5 separate regions of the Homo sapiens genome follow, and regions 2, 3, 4 and 5 are each linked to region 1. The links are contacts of gene promoters, found by promoter capture Hi-C in blood cells and fetal thymus (Javierre and others, 2016). All regions are on one chromosome and are shown on one strand. Each heading gives the region's core, a stretch centred on a gene start or on the middle of the fragment in contact. The rest is flanking DNA. Distances are from core to core; before and after follow the strand shown. Region 1 holds the start of SEPTIN7-DT (SEPTIN7 divergent transcript). Region 2 overlaps ANLN (anillin, actin binding protein). Region 3 overlaps MATCAP2 (microtubule associated tyrosine carboxypeptidase 2). Region 4 overlaps MATCAP2 (microtubule associated tyrosine carboxypeptidase 2). Region 5 has its middle 53 kb from the start of MATCAP2.

Region 1 (2,542 bases), core at 25-2,524:
ATAAGTTGCAACAGACTTCATAAGCAGTTCAGTAAAAATGTAGACTTACGAAATGGCATATATCAAGATACAAAATAAGTTGCTTCTATAAGTTTCTTTTCTTAAAAAAAATTACTTGGAAATATTTCAAGTATATAGAACAGTAAAGGAAATAATTACAAGTGAACACCCATGTGCCCTCTACTTAGCTTAATGTTTTGCCACATTTTCAAGATATTTCTGGTAGAAAACAAACGTTATAGATACAAATGAACCCTTCTTGTTACATTCCCTTCTGTTCATCTCTGGAAGCAACCAGTATTCTGAATTTGGTATCTATCATTTCCTTATACAATTTTTAGTTTGATCTTACTTTTTTGTAATTATTAAACTTTTATTTATGGTATGTCATATATATCTTTCCGCAACCTGTCTTTTCATTTCTTCCTCAATATTAGGTTAATGACTCTATCCATATGAAAAATGGTAGCTTTAGTTCACTGATTTTTTGGTTCGTGTTGTATGTCAATTTGTTCAACAATGACACTTATTCATCCATTCTCCTATTAGTAGACATTTATTGTTTCACTAATATAAGCTATTTTGCTCTGAACTTTCTTGCACGTGCCTATAACTTAAAAATACACATACTTTTTTAAAACATGCAGTTAAACAGGAACATACACATTTCTTTAACATGTAGTTAAACAGGAAAAGTAACACATGTGCATGAAGAATACAACCAAGAGAGCCATCACGTTCAAGAAAAGACCACAGGTTATTCCGAGTGAAGTAAGGCTTTCACTAGAAGGCACTTGGGGAACGTTCCAATGACAGCGACATTCATCGCTACAGTAGAAACTCACACAATCGCAGCCCTTTATTAGTATTTTGTTACCCAGTAGTTCCTGTGTCCATTCATTTCCTCAACTGGAGTGTGAGCTCCAAGAGGACCGAACCGGGCACCGACAAGGTGAGCCAATATGAATGTGGCGAGTCCGCAATGGGGGCTACAGCGGCCGACCTCTGGGGCTGTGCCAGGCCACTAGAGTGTGATGGCGCGAGGGAAGGGTCGGGGAAACAGGGCCTAACCTCACTTTTCACCCCGAAAGTCAAGATAGCCACGGAAACAGGGATGAATGGGGAGCACAGACACCTGCCTCGAAGTGTCTCTTCACTTTCACTCACAAAGCCGTCGGGTCAGTAACCAGAAGCCGAGGGGCGGATGCGGCCCCCGCCCTGTGGCACTTTCTCAGTCTGGTTCTTCCAGCCGCGCCTCTTTGCCTTACGCCAATTCCGTAAGGAGGCGCTGAGGCCAACTGGCCGGCTCCCGCAGCTCCAAAACTTGACGTGAAATTGCGCGGGGCAGAGCTGACTGCGGCCATCTTTAATTCGGGCAAGACCCCACCCTCGCACCCCACCCACTAGTCCTTTTCAGCGTTCCCAGGATTTTCTCCAACAAATGTAACGCGGTTAACCTTAGAAGCAGTGTTGAAGAAACACGCAAAGAGGCCTGAGTATCCATGACCTCAGTGGTGCGAAACCCGGCCAACTTAAACATGGCGGCTAAACCCGAACAGCAAAACGTTGCTGACGCCAATGAAGTCATGCTCGAAATGGAGCGAGGCGGCGGAGCTGGGGAGGCGGTAATCTCGCGAGATGGAAGCCAGCCTCCGCTAGGCCCGGAAGCCTCGTCTGAGGGGGCGGGGGACGGAGGAGGGAGCGGGAGTCGAGCGAGAGCCTGTGGAGGAGTCCGCCTGCTGTAGCGTGCGTAAGCAAGGCAGCTACGCCGGGCGGCTACGCTGCGGAATCGGCGTAGGCGCCTTTGGAGAATCGGCGGGCTGCGCTCCGCTGGGGCTGGTCGCGGAGGGGGGGAGGGGATGTCGGTCAGTGCGAGATCCGCTGCTGCTGAGGAGAGGAGCGTCAACAGCAGCACCATGGGTGAGTCTCAGCTTCGGGTGCCGCGACTTGGGGTCAGCGGCTCCGAATGCCGGGAAGCTCTGCGGCCGCTGGACCGAGCTAGGGAACGCCCTGAGGCGAGGCGGAGGCAGCGGCGAGGGGAGCCGGGATGGGGGCCACTGCGGGCCCGGGGCGCGGCAGCGGCGGGCTCGGGGGGAGGGGAGGCGGCGGCGGTGACAGTTTGAATTGAACGTGAGGAGAGCCGAGGCGGCGGCATTTCCTGTGCCGCGGCGGGCTGGCCCCCGGCGCAGAGCCGCGGCCTCCGCGGCCGGAGCAGCCTGAGCGTGGTGGTCTCAGCCCTGCCCTTGCTTCTCTCCGTCCCTTCGCCTTTCCTCAGTCTCCTCCCGGGCCCGCCGGCTTCCGCGGCCCCGCTTCCTCCTGTCCCCGGCCGCATCCCCGTCGGCAGAAGTCCCCTCGTGGGGCAGTGGGCCTGGCTAGGAGGGTGGGGACGAGTGTGAACGCTCGGGCGAGGGTGCTGTGTGGGCCAACCCGGGCGGGCGGCGGCGGGGAGGGAGGAAGAAGGATGCACCAGGCTGAGGCTGTGGTGGAGGCGGCGGCGGCGGCTGCAGCCGCAGCTCCAGTCACCGCGTCGCCTCCCCGCTCC
Region 2 (2,542 bases), core at 14-2,513, 600 kb after region 1:
AGTGGCTGGGATTACAGGCACATGCCATCACACCCAGCTAATTTTTGTATTTTTAGTAGAGATGAGGTTTCACCATGTTGTCCAAGCTGGTCTTGAACTCCTGACCTCAGGTGATCCGCCTGCCGCGGCCTCCCAAAGTGCTGGGATTATAGACGTGAGCCACCTCGGCAGGCCACCTGATGTTTTTTGGCACATAGCATAGTCTATGGTGTCAATTAATACCTATTTATTTTAGCAGTGGTGAGGTAAGAGGTAGGACTCGACTCCAGATGCGGGACTTGGACACTGGACAAGATAGAGAAATAACAACAACAACAAACAAATAAATTAAAAAAAAATTGAGGACTAGCTAAAACAGGGCCTGGGGGAAGCAGCTTTCCAGTGACATGCCCACCAGTGTGCCATGTCAATTCATCATTGCCATGGCAACACCCAGGAGTTACCACCCCTTTCCATGGCAATGACCCAAAAGTTACTATCCCTTCCCTAGATATTTCTACATAAGCTGCCCCTTAATGTGCATGCAATTAAGAGTAGGTATAAATATGATTGTAAAACTGCCCTGAACTGCTACTCTCTGCCTATGGAGTAGCCCTGCTCTGCACAGGGAATCAACAGAGCTGTAACATTGCCTCTTCAATAAAGCTATTTTTTTTTTTTTTTTTGAGGTGGAGTCTTGCTGTGTTTCCCAGGCTGGAGTGCAGTGGCACAATCTTGGCCCACTGCAACTTCTGCCTTCCAGGTTCAAGCAATTCTCCTGCCTCAGCCTCCTGAGTAGCAGGGATTACAGGCACACGCCACCACACCCAGCTAATTTTTTGTATTTTTAGTAGAGACAAGATTTCACCATGTTGGCCAGGCTGGTCTCAAACTCCTGACCTCAGGTGATCCACCCGCCTCGGCCTCCCAAAATACTGGGATTACAGGTGTGAGCCACCGTGTCCTGCCTGCACCTAGGTTATAATACTAGCCTTCTAACTGGTCTTCCTGCTTCAGACCTCTGCCCTGTCCAGTCCCTCCTCAATTTTCACACCAGCGCGATTTTTCTAAAACACTTGCCTGCTTCTGCTTTAAACTCTCCCAGGACCTCCCCATCACCTCCTGATTAAATTCCAATCTGGACCTGCTCTTTTTCAAACGTATCTCTCTATTTTGACACATTCAGAATGGAAAAAAAATGTAACTCTTGCTTTTCTACTGCTTGCTTTAAACACCAGAATAGGATCTACTTATACACACACTCTGCTCATGTTACTTACCTCTGCTTTCTATACATTTTTGTTTTTCTGACTAGATTATCTCCATTCTCTGAAGCCAGTTGTCCTTCAGAGTCCAGCTTAAGGAGTCTCTCCCTCCTCCAGAAAAGCCTCCCTGACCACCACTTTACCTGCAATACCCTTTATATACTTCTGTTATTTTCCCTAGAATAAACACTGTCCTATCAGCAGATGACAGTTTTATTGTCATATTTTAGGAATGGGCTTAATAAGACCTCTAGCTCTTGTAACTATACTCTGTGGTGCATGCCTGTAATCCCAGCTACTTGGGAGGCTGAGGCAGGAGAATGTCTTGAACCCGGGAGGCGGAGGTTGCAGTGAGCCGAGATCGCGCCATTACATTCCAGCCTGGGCAACAAGAGCGAAACTCTTTCTCAAAAAATATAATATAATATAATATAATCTAGGTGCAAAGAGTGAAGGCCTGTGGAAATGAAGAGGAGAAGCTGGATTTGAGAGATACAGGAGACAAACTCTAAGACCTAACGACTGGATGGTGGAGGGAGAAGGGAGGAAGAGGTCAGATTCCTGGCCTCAGTGACTGGGTAGTTAGTGATGTCTTTTCCTAAGATGAGGAGGAATATGTTCGGGGCAATTTCAACTTCACATATGTTATTTGGGATATCTGTGGGAGAGCCAAATGGAGGTATTTGGTAGTTGCAAGACTGTGAAGGATAAGCCAGGAAGGATAGTAGAGAATGATGTCACAAATAGAAAGGGAGTGATATATTTTAGAGATGTCAAGAAATACAAAGCCTGCAAAGTGTGTACTGGCATCTAGTGACAATGGCAAAACCAACTTCAGGGCAGTGGTATAGGCAGAAGGTCAGTTGAGTGAGTTAAGTGGTGCGTGAATATTGTGCAGGGAAAGAGGGGCGGTAGTTAAAGAGGATGTATATCAATGAGGGGATGTTTATTTTTTTTGAGACAGGGCCTTGCCTCATTGCTCAGGCTGGAGTGCAGTGGTAATGCTCTCAGCTCGCTGCAACCTCCTCCACCTCCCAGGCTCTAGCGATCCTCCCACCTCAGTGACCCGAGTAGCTGGGACTATAGGCGCATCACCAAGCCCAGCTAAGTTTTGCATTTTTTGTAGATGTTGCATTTTTCGTAGGTTTTGCCGTGTTGCCCAGGTTGGTCTTGAAGTCCTGAGCTCAAGCAATCCACCCGCCTTGGCCTCCCAAAGTGGTGGGATTACAGGCATGAGCCCACCGCTCCTTGCCGGGATGTTTGTTTGTTTGTTTGTTTATGAGAGGGAGTCTTGCTCT
Region 3 (2,542 bases), core at 15-2,514, 560 kb after region 1:
CAACCAATGTAGTTTATCGACTGTATGAAAATGAGACGAAAGGCACTGCTAATGTCATTCAGGAATTCAGAAACTTGACTGTACTTTAGGATTCTTAAAAATTTCACAGCCCCAGGTAAGAGCAATTCAGTGCTGCTCTATTAGTAACTTATAATGGGACACTGTTGTTTTGGGGTCAGAAACTTGTGTGTTTGTTGTTTTTACAGTTAGAAATACAGAGTAGTCTAGATACCCTTGATGGTGATGGTTGTGGTAAGAGTGAGCATTATACATCATCTAAAATAACACTAAATGTGCCAGAAACAAACTTTCCCATGGCTTTCCCTTGGGATGGACAAAACTCCTAACCATGGTCTATGAGGTCACTCTTGGTCAGATCCTTCTGCCTCTGCAGCCTCACCTCACACTGTGTTCCTCAATTTCTCCACTCCAGCCTTCTCTCACTTTGACCATATCTCATACTCACTATGCTCTCTCCGAACATACTTCTTCACATGCTGCTCCCTGTGTCTGCTGGGCCCTTCTATCCCTCTCTTTGTTAGATTAATATCCACTCATCTTTCAGTTCAAATAGCACTTGGTCAGGAAGCCTTCCTTAACTTTTTCATTTTAGACCCTCATAACACCTTGTATCTCTTCTTCGAAGTACTTTATCATGGTTGCAGGTTTATATTTGTTGTATGACAGACTTCGTCAACAATGAAATTATAAGCTCTTTTACAACATACATCTGTGTTTGGTTTTGCTTATTCACTGTCCTGCTTATGAAAGGGGGGCCAGAGAGGTAGACAAGGGAAGAGAATATTTGAGAGGAAAGAAAGGGTAAAAGACTTAGTTGCCTGACGGTTGAGGAAAAAATTATCCCAGGAAGGTAAAAGAAAAATGAAACAATTAGTGATGTTGAAGACAACATGGTAGGTACCTGCTGCTGTAGGACAAACAGGAGCTATGTGCCTAGGTATATTCAACCTGTATGGCCTAACGATGGCCTTAAGACTTTCATTTCCAGTATTTTTAAACATTCATCTTTGATATAAAGACACTTCATTTCTGGAATGACTCATTAATCTCTCCTTATATCACATACAAAATAAAGCCGATAGGCAATCATAAATGAACATAATCTTATATGGTTTCTCACAGCATTTTGTTAATGAATGAACTAGATGCGTTCTATTTTGAAAACAACAAATTTTTATTCAAGTGAAATATGATTTTCCCAGGTAAAAATTATTACATACTTGCCTGTGATTAAAAATCTAAAAACCAACAGTTGAGCAAACCATCGGATAATGTCACACTGATATTACATGAAATCTTGATGTTGGATTTTGTGGCTCAAATCAGTGTACAGTCACTATAATAGTGAGCTGATTTTCCTAGCAGTTGACAACATGGACTTTGGAATGGAGTTGTCTGGTATGAATCTTGGCTCTGTTTATTAATAGCTATTACCCTGACCAAGTTACATAACTTCTTTGTGCTACAGTTTCCTTATCTGTAAAATGGGATAATAATAATGCATACTTCATAGTATTATTGTAAGGATTTTAAAAGTGAATATGTGTGAAGTGCTGAGAACAGTGCTGGACTATAGGTAAGCAGCCTTTGTTAACTATTATTAGTATCACATTAAATATTATATTCAGCTCCTATAGAAACACCGCATGGAAAAATGTACATAGGGAAATATTCTGAATCATTAAATTTGAATTCCAAGGCAAATTTCATGTTAATAAGGTAATTAATCTATATTTTAGAATCAAGATTTTAGTGGCTTTGGTATAATAAACCCTTTTTTTTTTTTTAAATCCCGGAAGCTAAAGTAGAATCTTCTTCTTCTTTTTTTTTTTTTTGTGACAGGGTCTCACTCTGTGGCCAAGGCTGGAGTGCAGTGGCAATCCTGACTCACTGCAACCTCTGCCGCCTGGGCGCTCAAGTGATACTCCTGCCTCAGCCTTCCAAGTAGCTGGGACTACAGGCGCAGGCCATCATGCCCGGCTAATTTTTTAATTTTTTGTAGAGATAAGGTTTTGCCGTGTTGCCCAGGCTGGTCTTGAACTCCTGAGCTCAGGTAATCCGCCTGCTCTCCGCCTCACAAACTGCTGGGATTACAAGTGTGAGCCACTGCACCCAGCCTCAGAACCTTCTTCTTTAAAAGGCCATGAGAAGTCAAAAAAACCTTTTCTGATTTGATTCCATTTTTAAACAGCATAGATAGCATATACTAATAAGTCAAAAGTGGGTAAGATATTATATAGGAAGGATTTCAGAAACAAGTAATTGCTTCATTCCTGAAATATAAAATGAGTCTGTTCTATATTTGTAACGACTTTTAGAGCTGAAAAAAAAATGAACACATTTCCATCAGTACTCTTACCACAATCAAGTTCTGCTAACCAGAAAGAAGAACATGGCCATCTCAGATATCAATGAATCGTGAGGGAATGACCAGGGGAGAGGAGGGCATGTTTTCAGCTTAACTCTCTACATGAAGTTTCTGGCTGTCCAAACTGGGTTTTTCTGATATCGCAGTGAAATG
Region 4 (2,542 bases), core at 12-2,511, 540 kb after region 1:
AAACTGATGCTGACATAAAAAATGTTGATGGTTTTTAATGATATGAGAAAATGTTTATGATAAGTAAGTGAAAGTACATTGACCACAATTATGATCATTAAGCATGGGAAAAGAAAAATACTCTCAAAGGTCAATAGTGGTTACCTGTGGGTGGTAGAATTATGGGATTCTTATTCTCCACACTTTTCTAAGTTTTTATACTGAATATAAACTACTTTTCTAACTGGAAAAACAAATGGTTAAGTGCCTTCTACTTTGGAATCTCCTGGCCTTTCTATTCACTATCTAATTACCTTTTCCCATTTGCCAGGTAGGCATTGATATCCCTTCTCTGGAGTATTTGCATTTAACAAAGAAATACATGAAATTGTTTTTAAATCTTAAAAATTCAACTAATATTTTTCTATAATAGATTTTTAGGTAGGGATGATTGTTAGCAGGAAAACAGTTGGTATATTTTGCATTCTTGAGGTTAACTCATGGAACAGAGAGCCACTTCCCTAAAAATCCAGCCCAGATTTGCCCACAGATATCAAATATATTCTTTGCTTCCTTCCAACTCTAAGAATAGCGACATAAGTAGAAAGCAATGTAACATTACAAATTTTCATAAATCAGTTTTAAAATTCCTAGAACCAGAACATCTTAATGTACACACACCTATCCCTATTGTCCAGGTCTCAGCCTCCTAGTCCGCATGAATCTGACTTTGGACCTTCCCTTTGTGTACATCTTAAAATGTACTTGGCCAACTCCTCCATTACCTTGTTAGAAAATAGTATAACGGAATCTACTCTTGAGTTCCACAAGACACACTGTCAGGTAGGATAACACTTCTTGCTAAAACTGATGTGAAACAAGCAACCAAATACATTTTTGCCTTTTTAAAAACATTGAACAAAAAAACCCATATTTTTACTAAATTGTTATTATCTCTATTCACAAATCAATCATTTCTGAATCTTTCCCACTTTATAGAATGAGAATATATTTTTAAATTTTTAAAAGATTTTTCTTCACCAGAAGCATACAGTTGAAGAAGAGAATATTTTAAATAAACCTTTGCATATCTTATAGGCATCAAAACAAATTGATTTTCAGAGACCTGGAATCTAGAGCAAAGAGGAAATAAAAGCAAAATGAGTAATTGTTCTCTCCTCACCTGAATGTCACTTACAATGCCACACAAAATAGAATAGCACCATTATTCATATTACAGATCTGTCATCTCAGGATCCTGAAGCACTTTTATTCTCCTCTATTAAAATTAGAACAGTATGTAATCAAATTATTTTCAAACAGTGGGGCTGGGACAATTGGATATCCACATTTAAAAGAATGGAGTTGGACCTCTATCCCATATCATATATAAAAATTAACTCAAAATGGATCCAAGACCTTAACCTCTTAAGAGCTAAAGCAATAAAACTCTTAGAAGCAAGCATAGGCATACATCTTCATGACCCTGGATTAGGCAATGGGATCTTAGATATGACACCAAAAGCACAAACAACAAAAAGATAAGATGGACTTCATCAAAATTGTGCTTCTAAGGATACTATCATAAAAATAAAAAGTGACCCAAAGAATGGGAGAAAGTGTTTGCAAATTTCATATCTGATATCTAAAATATATAAAGAACTCCTGCAACTCAAGAACAAATAACTCAACTGAAAAATTGGCAAAGGATCTGAAATAGGCAATTTTCCAAAGAGGATATACAAAATGGCCATTATTAACCATCAGGGAATTGCAAATCAAAAGCACAATGAGATACCACTTCACTCCCACTGGGATGTCTATAGGAAAAAAAAAGGGCTGATGAGAACGTGGAGAAACTGGAACGCTCACATGCTGCTCATGGGAAACTAAAATGGTATAATCACTTTGAAAAACAGTCTGGCAGTTCCTTAAAAGGTTAAACATAGAGAAATTATATGTACTAACAAGTCCACTACTAGATGTGGACCCAAGATAACTGAAAACATTTGTCCATAAAAAATGTGTACACAAATGTTCATACAGCATTATTAACAGCCAAAAAGTAGAAATAACCCAAATGTCTATCAAATTATAAAAAAAATAGAATGTAGTATATTCATACATGGAATATTATTCAGCAATAAAAAATGCTGATGCATGCTAGAACACAGCATGGATAAACTTTGAAAACATTATAATAAGTGACAGAAGCCAGTCACAAAGGACCACAAGGTATTGTATGATTCCATTCATATCGAAAGTCCAGAACAGGCAAATCCAGAAAGTCAGAAAATAGACTGGTGGTTGCCTAGGGCTGGAAGGTTGGTGAGATGGGGAACGATTGCTAATGGGTACAGTGTTTCTTTTTGAGGTGACGAAATGTTCTAGAATTAGTGGTTATAGTTGCACAACTCTAAATACATTAAAAACCACTGAACTGTACTCTAGTTTTATTTATTTTATTTTACTTTTTTGAGACAGAGTGTCGCTCTGTTGCCCGGGCTGGAGTGCAGTGGCACGATCTTGGCTTACTGCAACCTCCGCCTCCCGGGTTCAAGCG
Region 5 (2,542 bases), core at 19-2,518, 510 kb after region 1:
CGAGTCTGAGGAGTCTTCCTGGGAGAGGTCCCCTTGAGCGGGGACCTGACCGGGTGAGTAGCAGATGGCATCCCCGGAAGAGGGGACCAGGAGGGCCGGGGTGTGGAGGGAGGACAGCAGTGATGTGGCTGCTCCTGGCAAGAGCTTAGGACGAGATATGGAGAGGAGACTGACGGGAGCCACAGGCCAGCTCTTCCAAGGCAGGCTAAGGATGTTGAGGTGGTTCTGCGGCGCTGGGGAGCATTGCAGGCTTGTGTGGGAGTAGGAACAGGTAGAGGAGGGGGCCTGCATCCGCAGTGCCGGGAGCGGCGCAGGTATCGGGGCAGGGATGGGGGATGGCTCTCGTTGCCGGCATATTATTGTGCGGTCCTTCGGCTAAGGTGTTAGCAGAGCTGGTGGGGGCCAGGTTGGTCACACTAGTCTCAGAGAAAGGCCTGAGGGGCTGGAAAGCAAGTGCAGAGGTGGGCTATTGGGACACTGTTGAGTGTCACAAGGACATGGGTTCGAGTTCTGCCTCCACCCTGACCAGCTTCAGGTTTCTAAGAAGTTGATCTTTGTTAGGTTTAAAAAAAAAGAAAAAAGAAAAATTCAGGAAAAGAGCCAGGTTTGGGGAGAAGATGCTAATCCCCGTTTTGGACAAGTTGAACTAGGGTGCCTATAGGTCAACTGCCCAGGCAGTTGGGAGCGGGTGGGGAAACCTGCCCTTCCAGAGCCTTCCATGATGGGTCTGCTGTGCTCCCGTCAAGGGTGGGACATTCCTCTATGAGAACACACATCAAACCGTGGAGTGCCTCGGCTGTCAGGCCTGCCTCCCAGCCAGACTGCACATGTAGAGAAGTAGAGGGAAGCTTACCTGAAGATGACAGTCCCGATGATGATGATGATGATGATGACGATGGTGATGATTGATCATGATGATGTTTTAAGAGCAGGGAGGCTGTTACCTTTTCTTATGGGCTGAAATGTGTCCCCTCAAAATTTATATTAAAATCCTAACCCCTAGTACTTTAGACTGTGACTTTATTTGCAAATAGGGTCATTGCAGACACAATTAAGATAAGGTCCTACTGGAGTAGAGTGAGCCCTTCATCCTATATGACTTAGTATTCATATAAGAAGAAGAAAAAACAGAAACAAACAGGGAGAGGGCCAAGTGGCCACGGAGGCAGAGATTACAGTGATGGAGCTGCAAGCCAAGGAACACTGCGGAGCAGCGTCCGAGGCTGGAAGAGGAGAGGCAGGGTCCTCCCTGCAGGCTTCAGAGGGAGTGGCCTCGCTCATACCTTGATTTTGGACTCCCTGACTCCAGTACCATGGGTGAATAAATTTCTCTAGTTGTAAGCCTCTCAATTGATGGTAATTTGTTATGACACCCCTAGGAGACTAATAGATGATCATGTCTGTATCCCCAGAACCTGGCACATCATGGCATTGGAGAAGCAAATGAATGAATGAAGTTCAGAGAGGGAATGCAGGAGAACTACTCAGCCCCACAAAGTCAGGTGGAATGTGGCTCTGCCCGCCTCCCCAAAGAAGGCTCTGTAGCCAAGAGCAGCAACAAATAGGCTGAGGGAGACCTGGGATGGTGCCGGTCTCCACCAGCTCACCTCCCTTGGTCTTGTCACCCAGGGCAGATCCTGATGTGGGGAGGGAGAGAGCAGAGAGCAGAGAAACCCTGGGGTTACCAGTGAAGCTTGTCTCTCACCTCAAGGGTGTCCTCTCCCTTCCTTGCTTTCTTCCACCACCACTACCCCATCCTCTCTGCAGTATCTCTGCGTCTGAGCATCAGAGCTAGGGTGACATTTACCCACCCTTTGGGAGTGGGTCCCTGGAAAGGTGCCAGGTGGAGCTGGAGGTTGAAGCAAGTTTCAGGGCATTGACAGGAAGAGAGTGAGGGAAGCCCTGGGTAGCACTAAGAGCATGGCTATAATGGGTGTTATGAGCCCAAACTCCTGTTCAGATCCTTTCCGGAAATTACTATTGGTGTGACTTTGGGAAAGTCACTCGACCCCTCTGAGCCTCTCAGTTTCTTTACCTGAAAAATGGAGGTATGTCTACTACCTTTAATATTGTCATAAAGATTAAATGAAATATATTTGGCATGAAATCGTCACCACCATCATTATCTTCAGTGGTGGCCAAGTGTCTCTAGGGAAGACAGGAGTGCAATGTGGATGGAAAGGTTTGGGGAGTTCCCAGACCACCCAAATCTGTGAGCAGGATGGCACTGAGAAATGCAGAACATGCCCTGGGGATGGGGGCAATTTTCTACAGTCTGGAGGATGTCTTTCAATCCTGGCTTCTGTGCAGAGCTGAGCAGTGTCCAGGGGTGGACGGTCCCCAGCCAAGCATGAGGAGGCCCCTTTGTGGGAGCCAACACCATACAGGGGGACAAGTTCAGATGTCAGGGCCCCATCAGAAGTGGGGGGCACAGAGTTTAAACCACCACTGAAAATAGGCAAGGGGACCCTTGTTGGAAGGAGTTTGCTGGGCATGAGAGAGGCCACCAGTGAGAGTAGGGGCAACCCTGACCTTCAGGGTC

The links. Contacts are between HindIII fragments. The CHiCAGO score rates a contact against its expected background, and 5 or more counts as called.
Region 2: a fragment that was not itself captured here is called in contact with the fragment with the promoter of SEPTIN7-DT in region 1 in 1 of 17 cell types (fetal thymus); the score reaches 5.1 in fetal thymus.
Region 3: a fragment that was not itself captured here is called in contact with the fragment with the promoter of SEPTIN7-DT in region 1 in 9 of 17 cell types (fetal thymus, neutrophils, naive CD8 T cells and 6 more); the score reaches 11.0 in fetal thymus.
Region 4: a contact is called between a fragment that was not itself captured here and the fragment with the promoter of SEPTIN7-DT in region 1, in 1 of 17 cell types (erythroblasts). The highest score is 5.3, in erythroblasts.
Region 5: a contact is called between a fragment that was not itself captured here and the fragment with the promoter of SEPTIN7-DT in region 1, in 1 of 17 cell types (M1 macrophages). The highest score is 5.5, in M1 macrophages.

Annotation. Positions count from the first base shown.
Region 1 is chr7:35,799,351-35,801,892 of GRCh38, forward strand. It overlaps SEPTIN7-DT (SEPTIN7 divergent transcript), which reads right to left and starts at 1,275. Exons shown (of 5, transcript NR_120512.1): 1 at 1,140-1,275. It overlaps SEPTIN7 (septin 7), which reads left to right and starts at 1,707. Exons shown (of 14, transcript NM_001788.6): 1 at 1,707-1,920. The coding sequence starts at 1,860. RefSeq lists enhancers at 939-998, 1,121-1,744, 1,359-1,748 and silencers at 1,899-2,138, 2,169-2,542. The HindIII fragment of the contact is 5,766 bases long and covers 1-2,542 here.
Region 2 is chr7:36,401,465-36,404,006 of GRCh38, forward strand. The region is part of intron 3 of ANLN (anillin, actin binding protein); the gene reads left to right. Among named protein-coding and RNA genes, the nearest start is that of ANLN, 13 kb to the left of the region's middle. The HindIII fragment of the contact is 5,463 bases long and covers 1-2,542 here.
Region 3 is chr7:36,362,250-36,364,791 of GRCh38, forward strand. All of the region lies in intron 1 of MATCAP2 (microtubule associated tyrosine carboxypeptidase 2), which reads right to left. Among named protein-coding and RNA genes, the nearest start is that of MATCAP2, 3.7 kb to the right of the region's middle. The HindIII fragment of the contact is 6,130 bases long and covers 1-2,542 here.
Region 4 is chr7:36,344,323-36,346,864 of GRCh38, forward strand. The region is part of intron 2 of MATCAP2 (microtubule associated tyrosine carboxypeptidase 2); the gene reads right to left. Among named protein-coding and RNA genes, the nearest start is that of MATCAP2, 22 kb to the right of the region's middle. The HindIII fragment of the contact is 4,851 bases long and covers 1-2,542 here.
Region 5 is chr7:36,312,923-36,315,464 of GRCh38, forward strand. No RefSeq gene overlaps it. Among named protein-coding and RNA genes, the nearest start is that of MATCAP2, 53 kb to the right of the region's middle. The HindIII fragment of the contact is 845 bases long and covers 847-1,691 here.